2 separate regions of the Homo sapiens genome follow, and region 2 is linked to region 1. The links are contacts of gene promoters, found by promoter capture Hi-C in blood cells and fetal thymus (Javierre and others, 2016). All regions are on one chromosome and are shown on one strand. Each heading gives the region's core, a stretch centred on a gene start or on the middle of the fragment in contact. The rest is flanking DNA. Distances are from core to core; before and after follow the strand shown.

Region 1 (5,955 bases), core at 2,357-4,856:
AAATTTAAATTAATTTTAAAAATTTTGGCCGGCCACAGTGGCTCACGACTGTAATCCCAGCACTTTGGGAGGCTGAGGCGGGCAGATCACGAGGTCAGGAGATTGAGACCATCCTGGCTAACACAGTGAAACCCTGTCTCTACTAAAGAATACAAAAAATTATCTGGGCATGGTGACGGGCACCTGTAATCCCAGCTATTCGGGAGGCTGAGGCAGGAGAATGGCATGAACCCAGGAGGAGGAGCTTGCAATGAACCAAGGTCGCGCCACTGCACTCCAGCCTGGGTGACAGAGCAAGACTCCATCTCAAAAAAAAAAAATTTAAGAAAATTGGCCAGGCCCAGTGACTCACGCCTGTAACCCCAGCACTCCGGGAGGCCGAGACGGGCAGATCACGAGGTCCGGAGATCAAGACCATCCTGACTAACACGATGAAATCCTATCTCCACCAAAAACACAAAAAAATTAGCCGGGCGTGATGGCACGCGTCTGTAATCCCAGCTACTGGGGAGGCTGAGGCAGGAAAATCACTTGAACCCCGGAGGCGGAGGTTGCAGTGAGCTGAGATCACACCACTGCACTCCAGCCTGGGCAACAGAATAAGTCTTCATCTAAAAAACAAACAAACAAACAAACAAACAAACAAAAATTAGCCGGGTATAGTGGTGGGTGCCTGTAATCCCAGCTACTCAGGAGGCTGAGGCAGGAGAATCACTTGAACCCGGGAAGCAGAGGTTGCAGTGACATCACACCACTGCACTCCAGCCTGGACAAAAAGAGTGAAACTGTCTCAAAAAAAAATTTTTTTAAGAAAATAAAAACACACCTTCAAATTCTTTGAGATTCTTTCTTTCAAGAGGTAGAGCCTAATTTCCCTCTCCTGGAGTATGGCCAGACTCCCTGACTCGATTCTGACCCCTAGAATAAAGCAGGAGAGACTTCGAAGACGAGGTCACAAAGAAGGCACTGCAGCTCCATCGGGGTCTCCTCACGATCCCTCTCGTGGAGCATATGCTCTGGGGGAAAAGCTTAGGACATCTATCCCATGTGAGGCACTCAAGCAGCCCCATGGAGAGGCCCCAAAGTGACCAACCGAGGCCTCTCACCAAATGCCATTTTATGGGAGGGAGCTGTTTAGGAAGCCCATCCTCCAGCCCTAACCAAGTCCCACCCGGCCTCAGAGGGAGGGAGACCCTGAGCTAGAACCACCCAGCTAAGCTTCTCTCAGTTTCCTGACCCTCAAGAGATGGAGAGAATGCAGGTTTGCTGTTTTACGCCACTAAGGTTCGGGGTGTTTTGTTACACAGAAATAGATAACTATTGGGGGATCTCCACATCTCACCCCCGAAAGCGTCCCTCTAACTGTGGCTTCAGTAGCAGGCAGAGCCCCAGACCAGCCCCACTCCTTGGGCCTGGCCCACTGTCACTCAATAACGGGTCTGGAATATCATTACCCAGCTGGATGCCTCTTCTCAGGCCACCACCCCTGAGACGCCTCCTCTGATCTCCCCAGCTCAGGTGGCCCCATCTGCTATGGTGTCTTCACAGCACTGAGGTTACCGGGCCTTGTCTCAGCTGCTAGAACACATTCTTTACAATAGATGCTTTGTAATCCTCACACCAGATTACAAGCTCCATGAGGGCAGGGCCCTTGCCTATCTGACACATGTCTGAGTCCCCAGCCTGACCACCTAGGGGGCGTTCAATAAAAGTTTGCTGCATGATTGGAAATCCCACCTCGAAGCAAAAGGGAGACCCCAGTGACAACACAGCAGCCCAGGAACCCCAGCCCCATCACAAGGTCCGGTTGCTTTCCTGGCACCAAGGAGTGGGGCTGTGGGGGCTGGATCCTAAAAACAGCGGCAGCCCTCGAGCAGGTGCCTGGGCACCTTGTCTCCGTAGCTCTTTCCCACCCTCCTGGGTTGTTGTCCTCTGAGAGAGTGCTCAGGGGAGCAGGGGTCTCTGTGGGGACAGTGGCTCCCCCTCCAGGGGTCTCTGCCAGCCCCAAACTCCTCCTGCTGTTCTGGGGCAAGGGCCAAGTGCCTGACAAGTTCTCCATCTGCTCACGGGCTAAAGTCGGTGCTTTCTGCCGTCACTTTTAGATCCTGGCGCAGGCCACACAATTCATGTCAGGAGTAAATCATTTTGATTTCCACCTCTGGTCCCGAGAAAGCCATCTTCTCTTCACCCCTAACACCGCAGGACCCCCCCATCCTGCCTGCCCAGCCCAGAGGCCACACCTACTCCACCACGGAGGCCCAGCCAATTAGCCACTTCCCTGCACTTTTGAAAGGGGATCCAGCCGGGAAGAGTCACAGGATCCCAGGAGGCAGGCCCTGAAAGGCAGGGGCAGCTGGGTGCCCGGCAGGGCTATTTGGGGCTCAGTAGCGGCAGCTTGGGTTCTCTCTCTCCCCAGGCCCCAGACTCATGCCCCCTCCAGGAGCAAGAGGAAGTGGTGTGATTCTTGAAGGGTGTCATCAGTTGTCACAGGGACAAGACCCCACCTCTGCCCTGCTCCTCTAACCTCTGTTCCTGGCATGAGCAAACTGCTCACAAGTGGCCAGAGGCCAGCGAGAAGGGGAAAAGGGCGCCAGACCACGTGCCCAGGAAGGCATCAGAGTGCGGGCTTGGGGTGGGGTGGAGGCAGGACAGGCCAGCCCAGGAAGGTCACTCTGTGAGGTTACGTGCCCCACCAGGTGGGACGCCAGCCCCGGAGCTGTTCCCTCAGCCCCATTCCCGAACACTTAAGAACCACACTGTGCAAAGTTTGGAGAGTCCGGGATCATAACCTCCACTTTGCCACCAGCTCCGAGTGACCTTGGGGAAGCCAGCTGTGGCACTCGGCCTCAGTTTCCCTCCTGCACAGGGAAGGAAGTTGGTAGGTCCTGCACAATCTCTGGGGTGCCCTGTGACCCATTCCAATGGGGTAAGGAAGGCCGCCTTCCTCACGCTGCCCCCTGCGTGGACACTTGGACCTGGTCTGGAGTGAATTGTTCTGTGGGGCTGGGAACACGCGCGGGGGCGGGGGGGGCTGTCAATGGGGAGGAGGGGTCCGTTCCAGGGCAGATGGGGCCTCAACTTCCCCAGGTCTCTCGGGTGGAAGGGGCTGCTCGCTCGTTGGGGGCCGCCCAGCCGGGAAGCTCCACGTGAGGCCGCCCTCTCCCTCGCGCCCCCTCGTGCTTACACTTACATTTCGCCTCCTTCCAGTCGGTGGAGGTGCTCAGGTCCACCTTCGCCGCCATGGCCAGGGGGGCCCAAGTGCGCACCCCGGCTGTCCGCCCCACCGCCGCCGCCCCCCACGCCCCAACTCCCGCCGAGGTCCGCGCACGGCGGCCGAACACGCCCAGGAACGCCGGGGGACCGCACGTGCTGCTGCGGGTCCTCGTGGCACCCGCCAAGTGTCCGGGCCGGGGGCGCGGGGGGACGAGCAGCTGCCCCGCCGCGCGCAGCTGTGCCAGGCGGCCGGACAGTCGGCTCTGTAGAGACATGAGCGGGCGGCGCGGGACGGCTCTCCGCCCACTTGGACTCTATTTACGGCGCTCGGGAGTGTCTCTCCCTTATTTACTCTGGGACCGGGTGGCGACTGCCAGCCAGCGGCGACCTGCTCGGAGCCAGCGGGAGGCGCGGCCAGAAAACCCGGGAGCGCCGCTGGGCACCCTGGAACTTGTAGTCCGGGCCGCCGGATGGGCCCACGCACTCGTATACACACGTGCGCGCCCGCCCGGGCTCCCAGTGTCGCGGATGGAGCCCCGCCTGAGCCCTTCGACTTCTCCCGTGGCCGCCAGGCGCCTCCCCTCCGCGAGACCTCGGCCGCCTCTAACTTTCTGGTTGGCTGAGCGTCGGCTTCCCCGGCACGGGCTGAAGCCCCCGGGCCTTCCACGCAGCCCCGGGCCCCTCTGCCGCTCGGCCCCGCGGCGGAGCAGGCGCGCCGGCCGCTGCGTATCGAGCTGGGAGAGCCTGGCGCGGCTTCCGCAGTGCCGAGCGTTTTGCAGCCTGGGAGACCCGGGCTTCTCTCCCCGCGGGTCAGCAGGGCACCGCCTCCACACCCCAGCCTGCCCTCCTAGGGACAGGTGCGACGAACGGGTAAATCCGGTTTGGGGACTTCTCCCCAGAGCCTCTGCCTTCTAACAGCCCCGGGGCCAAGGCTCAGCTGGAGCAGAATCTAGGACAGCTGGGGAGGAGAGTCGAGGGTGGAAATAGTGGAATTTGGAGGCAGGAAACTTAGGCTTCAAGTGGCGTTCAAGGGTGGAAGGATTGGGGTGATGTTTTTGTGTGTGTCTGTGTGTTTTTTTTTTTTTTTCTTTTCTTTTTTAAACAAAAACCGGCCGGGCGCGGTGGCTCACGCCTGTAATCCCAGCACTTTGGTAGGCCGAGTTGGGTGGATCACGAGGTCAGGAGTTCGAGGCCTGCCTGGCCAACATGGCGAAACCCCGTCTCTACTAAAAATACAAAAATTATGCAGGCGTGGTGGTGCATGCCTGTTAATTACAGCTACTCGGGAGGCTGAGGCAGGAGAATCACTTGAACCCGGAAGGCGGAGGTTGCGGTGAGCCGAGATCGTGCCATTGCACTCCAGCCTGGGTGACAGAACGAGACTCTGTCTCAAAGAAAACAAAACAAAAAACACGAGGATGGATTTTTAAGTACTTTTATATATTTTTATGTACTATTAATATTACTTTATGATAAATATAATGAATACAGGCCGGGCCATTATAATAATATAATGAATGTAATAATGAATAATGAATAAGTGCTCACACCTGTAATCCCAGCACTTTGGGAGGCTGAGGCAAGAGGATTATTAGAGGCCAGGAGTTCAAGACCAGCCTGGGCAATATAGTGAGACCCCCTCATCTCTACCCGCCCCCACACAAAAAAATTACCCTGGTATGGTGGTAGACACTCACCTCTAGTCCCAGCTACTCCAGAGGCTGAGGCAGGCAAACACTTGAGCCCAAGGGTTCAAGGCTACAGAGAGCCATGATGGCACCACTGCACTACAGCCTGGACGACACAGTGAGACCCTATCTCAAAAGTAATAATAATAATGAATATATTTTAATACGAGGGAGGAACGAGCCAGGGTTTCAGAGAAGGTTCTAGTACTAGTGTTGCTGCCCTAGGGTACCCTAGCCCCTTAAGACTCAAACTTCTTGAGCTGTCAGCTAGGAATAAGAGAGTCTGGCTGGTTGCAAACCTGCTCCTGTGCTCCAGGCCTCTGACTCTGAGTGTGGCAATAACCATGGATGGCCGTACGAGGATCCCTGACCTGCCATGGATGCAGATGGAACCACTGGGATGGTGACACGGGCTCACCCTTGGACTCCAGACATTAAATCTGCCCAAGAGAGGATCAGCATAGACTTGCCAGCAGCAGGGTAGGCAGTCATCAGTACTGGGAGTGAGGGCAAAGGGGAGCCAGAGGCCAGGAAGGAAGAGCCCACGGCCCCCAGCATTCCAGGACCACCAGCAAGGCCTGCACCCTCTCCTGAAAACATCAGCAAGGCACGGTTCAGGATGTAGGGGTCAGGCTCCAGGTCACCTCACCAGTTGTGGCCCCTCCAGTAACTCAGAGTAAAGGAAGGACCTTGCTGACTGCAACCAGGACAGCCAACACCTACATGCACGAAGTCCCAGCTGTACTGAGCTAAGCCCTCTATGTCCATTCCCACTACCTCCATTAGCCCGTTATATCCTCAGCTCTCACCCCCTCCAGGCAGAGAGATGATTGGCCCAAGGTCAGGTCAGGATCCCAGCCCCGACTTGGGTCCAGGTCTGTTTGGTTCCCATCTGCAGTCTGGAAAATGGTTATGCAGGTGTCACTGATTGGTGAAATGAGGCATGTGGGTGATGCAGTATATTACTTCTCCATTGCTGCTGTACCATTACCGCAAATTCACTGGCTTCAACGACACATTTAGTATCTTAAAGTTCTGTAGGACAGAAGTCTGA
Region 2 (5,237 bases), core at 606-3,105, 160 kb before region 1:
TGAGATGTTTCTCCATCAGGTCAAAGATGAAGCCTTCCTCCACCTGTGGCCAGAAGATGGCCCCTAAGGCCCCTCTGCCTCCTCCCTGCAGCCCCTTCTTCCCTCCACCCTCCTCTACCGTTAAACTCCCCCTGATATGGCTCCTTCATATCAGCCCTCTGTCTCACTATATCATCCAGGCTGGAGTGCAGTGGTGCAATCTTGGCTCACTGCAACCTCTGCCTCCTGGGTTCAAGTGATTCTTATGCCTCAGCCTCCCGAGTAGCTGAGCTTACAGGGGCGCACCACTATGCCCAGCTGATTTTTTGTATTTTTAGTAGAGATGGGGTTTCACCATGTTGCCCAGGCTGGTCTTGAACTCCTGACCTCAAGTGATCCACCCGTCTCAGCCTCCCAAAGTGCTGGGATTACAGATGTGAGCCTGTGTTTTTTTGAGACAGGGTCTTGCTATGTTGCCCTGCCTAAGCCTCCTAAGTAGCTGGTATGACTCACCCCCCATGGCCTTTGTCAGCCTTCTTGTTGGGTAAGCACCTGCGTGGTGATTTACAGCCGCTGTCTTATTATTTTTCCTGTTTATAGAAGAAGAAACTGAGGCACAGAGAGCAAAACTTGCCCACACGGCTGGAAGGTTGGGCTCCCAACCTCAGTGGCTCTGCTTCCTCTGGGACCACTAAAGGGCCTCGCCCTGAACCACTCTGGCTGACTGGTTTGAATGGCCCCCTGTCCACGCTCTTGGGGAGGCAGTGTCTCCCCACATCAGCACGTCCCCTTCCAGCAGGGGGGCTGCCCTGGTGGCCTCTTGTTGCACAGTGTTCTGAGGCCACTGTCTTTCTGGACGGTTTGGCTGCCCCCAGCGCTGACGGCTCCCTCCATCCAGCGGGACTTCCCGTCTCCTTCGTGGGCTCTCGTTCCTCAGGCCGCTCCTCAAATGCCACTGGGGCTCTGCCTGCCCTCGCCTGAGCCCGGAGGAACCTCTTTCTGCCCCAAGCCCTGGCCTCTGAGCGGCCCTTGACCCTCCGCCCCATCTTAGGCATCTCCCTGCTTTGCTGTGGTAAAGCCCTGCCTTCCAGCCTCCACGGCCAGCATTCAGCCCAGCATCTGTGCGCCTCCCATGGAAGGATGTTGTGGAAGGAAGGAGGGCTGGGCTGAGTGATTGCCCATGGCCCTGGGCATTCCTGGGGCAGTGGAGGGCACCAGGAGTGGGCAGTCCTCAGAGCCAGCAGAGGCGGAAGGCAGGCAGGCTCCGGTGGGGCCATCCGCCAAGGCGCTTAGGATGAGTTGGCCGCTATTTAGGGTGCTGTAATATGCATGAAGGGAAGATTAGATATTTAAATTTATTCAGCAATAAATGCATCTCAGTGGGGGAGCATTCCTCATGCTAAACAAACAAGCAGGCAGGGGCTAATTAATTATTTACAGGAACATAAGGAGGCCTGTGGCCCACAGGACCAGGAGGGCAGCTGTGCCCCTACCGAGGGCAGGGCACCCCAACCCGCAGGCCTGGACCTGCTCCTGGTCTCTCTCTGCTCCCCCATTCCCCCTACCATCCCGTGGGGCTGGCCCACGCTGTGCCCTCTTTGGGATTTCTCTTCCCAGAATTCCTGGCCACGAGATTGCTGGTGGTTTGGGGCAAGTCACTTAACCTCTCTGAGTCTCAGAGCTCTGGCCTCCAGAGACTGGTGGGGGCTGGGAGGGGTGACTCATGCCTGTAATCTCAGCACTTTGGGAGGCTGAGGTGGGAGGGTCACTTGAGCTCAGGAGTTCGAGACCAGCCTGGACAACATAGTAAGACCCCATCTCAAAGAAAAGAAAAAAGAGTGGTGGGGAGCACTGAGATATGCTGGAAGGTGTCAAGGGGGATGGGAGACTGAGGGCCAGGGGGGTTAAGCAACCTGTCCAAGGCCCCACAGTGAGAGGAGGAGCAGAAACTAAGATCCACTTTATTTATTTATTTATTTATTTATTGAGACAGTTTTTTGCTCGTTGCCCAGGCTGGAGTGCAATGGCATGATCTCAGCTCACTGCAACCTCCGCCTCCCGGGTTCAAGCAATTCTCCTGCCTCAGCCTCCTGAGTAGCTGGGATTACAGGCGTGTGCCATGATGCCTGGCTAGTTTTTGTATTTTTAGTAGAGGTGGGGTTTTGCCATGTTGGCCAGGCTGGTCTTGAACTCCTGACCTTGTGATCCGCCCGCCTCGGCCTCCCAAAGTGCTGGGATTATAGGCGTGAGCCACCGCGCCCGGCCAAGACCCACATTATTAACCCTCATCGTACAGAAGTAGTGATAGGCTCAGAGAGGCAAAGCCACTTTCCCAGAGCCACACAGCAAAGTGTAAGGCCTTGCCTGGGCAGCTCTTGCCCCTGGCCCCCACCTTCCTAGACTCCTGTGGGCCCCAAGAGCAGGGAGGTGAACAGGAAGGGGGGCCTGGGCAAGGTTGTGGGGGTGAGTGGGGCCTGGGCTGGCTGGGTGTCCAGCCTGCTGCCCTGTGACTGCAGCGTCTGGCCCTGCCTCTCAGGTGCCGAGTCTCATACCTCTCTGGCTCAACCTCACGCCTCTGAAATGAGCTTTTGGGGGCTGTATGGGAGGATCCCCTTTTTACAGATGGGAGGCTGAGGCTCAGCCATGGACTTCACAGGCAGGGGATTCCTTTGCCCTGTCATGCTTTTGGGGGCCTTGTACCCCAGGGACTGGCTGCACTGCCAGGGTGGAGATGCCCCTGAGAAGGCAGGCAGGAGGGCTGGAGACAGAGGGCCTTGGGGAGGCAGAGGTGTGAGCTGGGGTTTGAGGGAGGGGTGTGTCTCCCCTCCAGCCCAGGAAGGACCAGGGGTCTGGGCTCCAGGGACCACTCCCGCCTGGACGGGCTGGGCACAGCCTGGAGGGCATTGGCAGCCAAGCCTCGGTGCAGCCCATGCTGGTTTCCCTCTCTGGAGGAGGGCTACAGAAATACCAGATGCCAAGGCAGAAAGGGACAAGGCTCCCGGGGAAATGGGGGAAACTGAGTCTCTGAGAGGGTACCAACTGCGTCAAGGGCAGACATCTGACTTGCTGCCCCAGGCTTCTAACCCTGCAGAGGGAAGGTTTAGCCACAAAGACCGGATAAGTGACCTACCCAAGGGTCTTGCGCTCTCTTCTCTCCCAGCCCACTCCTCATTCTCCACCTCTGGCTTCTATTCAACTAGGCCAAGACCTGAGCGATATCCCATTGCCGGAACCATCTTTGCTTCTGCTCACACCCTCCTGGTCGGCCATTCAATCAACAAACTCTAGCCAGCCCCGGCTCTGTGCTAGGCTTGAGCTCAGCCCAGCAGGGTGCAGAGCCCATCCTCACCAGGCCCCACCCTCTCGGTGCCAAGGCGGGTGGGTGCCCGGGGGAGAAGATGGATGGACGACAGTTCTGTGATGAGATCTGAAATTCATTACGGGGTGAGATCAGCTCCTTAAATGGGGATTTGAAAACATTAGGGCTTCATTATGTACACAACGGCAGTGCCTCATTCATCATGCAAAAATCACTCCCGTTATTAAAAATCCCTGTGGCAGCTGCATGCCGGGGCTTGGTGGCATCGTGCCTGCTGGGGACAGAGCAGGAGCTCCACAGCCCTGCCTGGTCAAAGTTGTGGCCACGGGACAGGGGCCCCAAGTCCCAGCCTCCCTCTTACACAGGGGCCAGCTGCGGGGTGGGGCGGGAAGTGAGGTTCAGCTCCAGGGACTTAGTGCCTCAGTTTCTCCACCTGCAAAATGGAGACGCTAATGATGCCTCCCATAGGGCGGGGTGAGGGTGTATGAGATTCTTCAGGGAGAGGTTCAAAGGGTGCTGGTGGCCATGTCGTAAGTACTGAGAATGCCTGGCTGCCGTTGGCACCATCATCAACTGGGGTCAGGCAGGGGTGGCAGGAAGGCCTGGGGGCCTTTCCTTGGGGAAGGGCACGCATCCCCTGTCATAAAACCTCCCATGGCTCCCAAGAGTACATGGAATAAAATCCTCAACTCCAACAAAGCTTTCCTGGACTCTCTGGGGCTCCCTGCAGCCTCCCTCTCAGATGAATTCACTGCCTCCCGCGCCCCTCCTACTGGTTCCAAACTCTACCATTCAAAAAATGCGTACGAGGGCTCGGGGGCGACGTGCCACGTGCCAGCCCTATGCAAGGGCCAGGAGTCCTGTGGCCGCAGCAGTTCTAGGGACGGGACACGCGGCTCTAAGTTGTGGGCGTGGTGAAAAAGGAGAAGGGGAAAATGGAGCTGGCCCCGAGGAAGGAGGGAGGGATGGGCGCCGTTCAGAGGATGAGGTGGCCCCTCCGAGGAGGTGGCATTGGAGCAGAGCCCTGAGTAATGAGAAAGAACTGGCTTTGGAAGGAGATGGGGAGGAGAGTCCGGGATGAGAGTCCGGGCGGAGAGCTCAGGAAGGGCAGAGCCCTGTGGCAGGAACAGGCCGGCGGGTGAGGCTGGGAGGGAGCGCTGCCTCTACAGGACCTCCCGGGAGGTGCGAGGAGTCGAGCAATTGGGAATTGATTCGAGCGCGGTGGGAAGTTTCCATCAGTGAAGGGACGTGTTCTGGTTCGGCCTCTGGACCCTCTTCTGTTCCCTCTTCTGGACACGCCCTTCCCTTCTATGCTGAAGCACAGCCCCCTCCCCCCTCGCCCTTTGCCAGACAGCCCCACGCCAGAGGGTCCCGGCACGCCCACCCTGCACACACAACACCCACCAGACTGGCACAGGGACAGGTGCGGGGACTGCCCAGCCCTTCCGGCTGCCTGCTGCTTCTGAGCTCAGCCCTGCTGGGGAGGGGAGGGCCGCACACAGCCCCGCCTCCAGAGGGCCGAGGCTGGCCACAGGCCACGGAGGTCACGTTTATCTGCTCGCAGAGCAAGGCCACGGCTAATCGGAGCGGCCGGAGCTGAGCCTTTTCCTAGCGGCCGCGGGAAGCAATCACGGATTAGCAGCGGCCGGGCGATGGGAGATAGCGCCAGAGCAGGGCGCGGAGCGCTTGTGAGCCGGGCAGGAGTCGAGCGCTGAATACTTAGAGGCCTGGGCGAATCCTCCCGGGCCTGCGGGTCTACGAACAGAGAACCAGCCAGAGCCAGAGAGAAAGAACGACAGGAGAAGGGAGAGGGAGCCAGGGAGAGGCAAAGCGTGGAGGGAGAAATGGAGAAAACGAGGGAGAGAGGGAGGTGGCAAGAGAAAGAGGTGAGGGAGAGAGGCAGGGTTGTGGGGGAGAGCGCTCGGCTGGCCCCCAGGGT

What was found. The method cuts DNA at HindIII sites, captures the fragments that hold promoters and counts their contacts. A CHiCAGO score of 5 or more calls a contact.
Region 2: a contact is called between a fragment that was not itself captured here and the fragment with the promoter of MACROD1 in region 1, in 8 of 17 cell types (M0 macrophages, endothelial precursors, M1 macrophages and 5 more). The highest score is 8.0, in M0 macrophages.

The regions. Positions count from the first base shown.
Region 1 is chr11:64,162,507-64,168,461 of GRCh38, forward strand. It overlaps MACROD1 (mono-ADP ribosylhydrolase 1), which reads right to left and starts at 3,607. Exons shown (of 11, transcript NM_014067.4): 1 at 3,191-3,607. The coding sequence starts at 3,488. LOC105369339 (a long non-coding RNA gene) reads left to right here and starts at 3,732. Exons shown (of 3, transcript XR_950187.3): 1 at 3,732-4,083. RefSeq lists an enhancer at 3,126-3,626 and silencers at 3,164-3,263, 3,394-3,473, 3,734-3,993. The HindIII fragment of the contact is 18,296 bases long and covers 1,217-5,955 here.
Region 2 is chr11:64,003,084-64,008,320 of GRCh38, forward strand. The region is part of intron 4 of MACROD1 (mono-ADP ribosylhydrolase 1); the gene reads right to left. Among named protein-coding and RNA genes, the nearest start is that of OTUB1, 19 kb to the left of the region's middle. RefSeq lists an enhancer at 4,789-5,237. The HindIII fragment of the contact is 4,282 bases long and covers 1-3,996 here.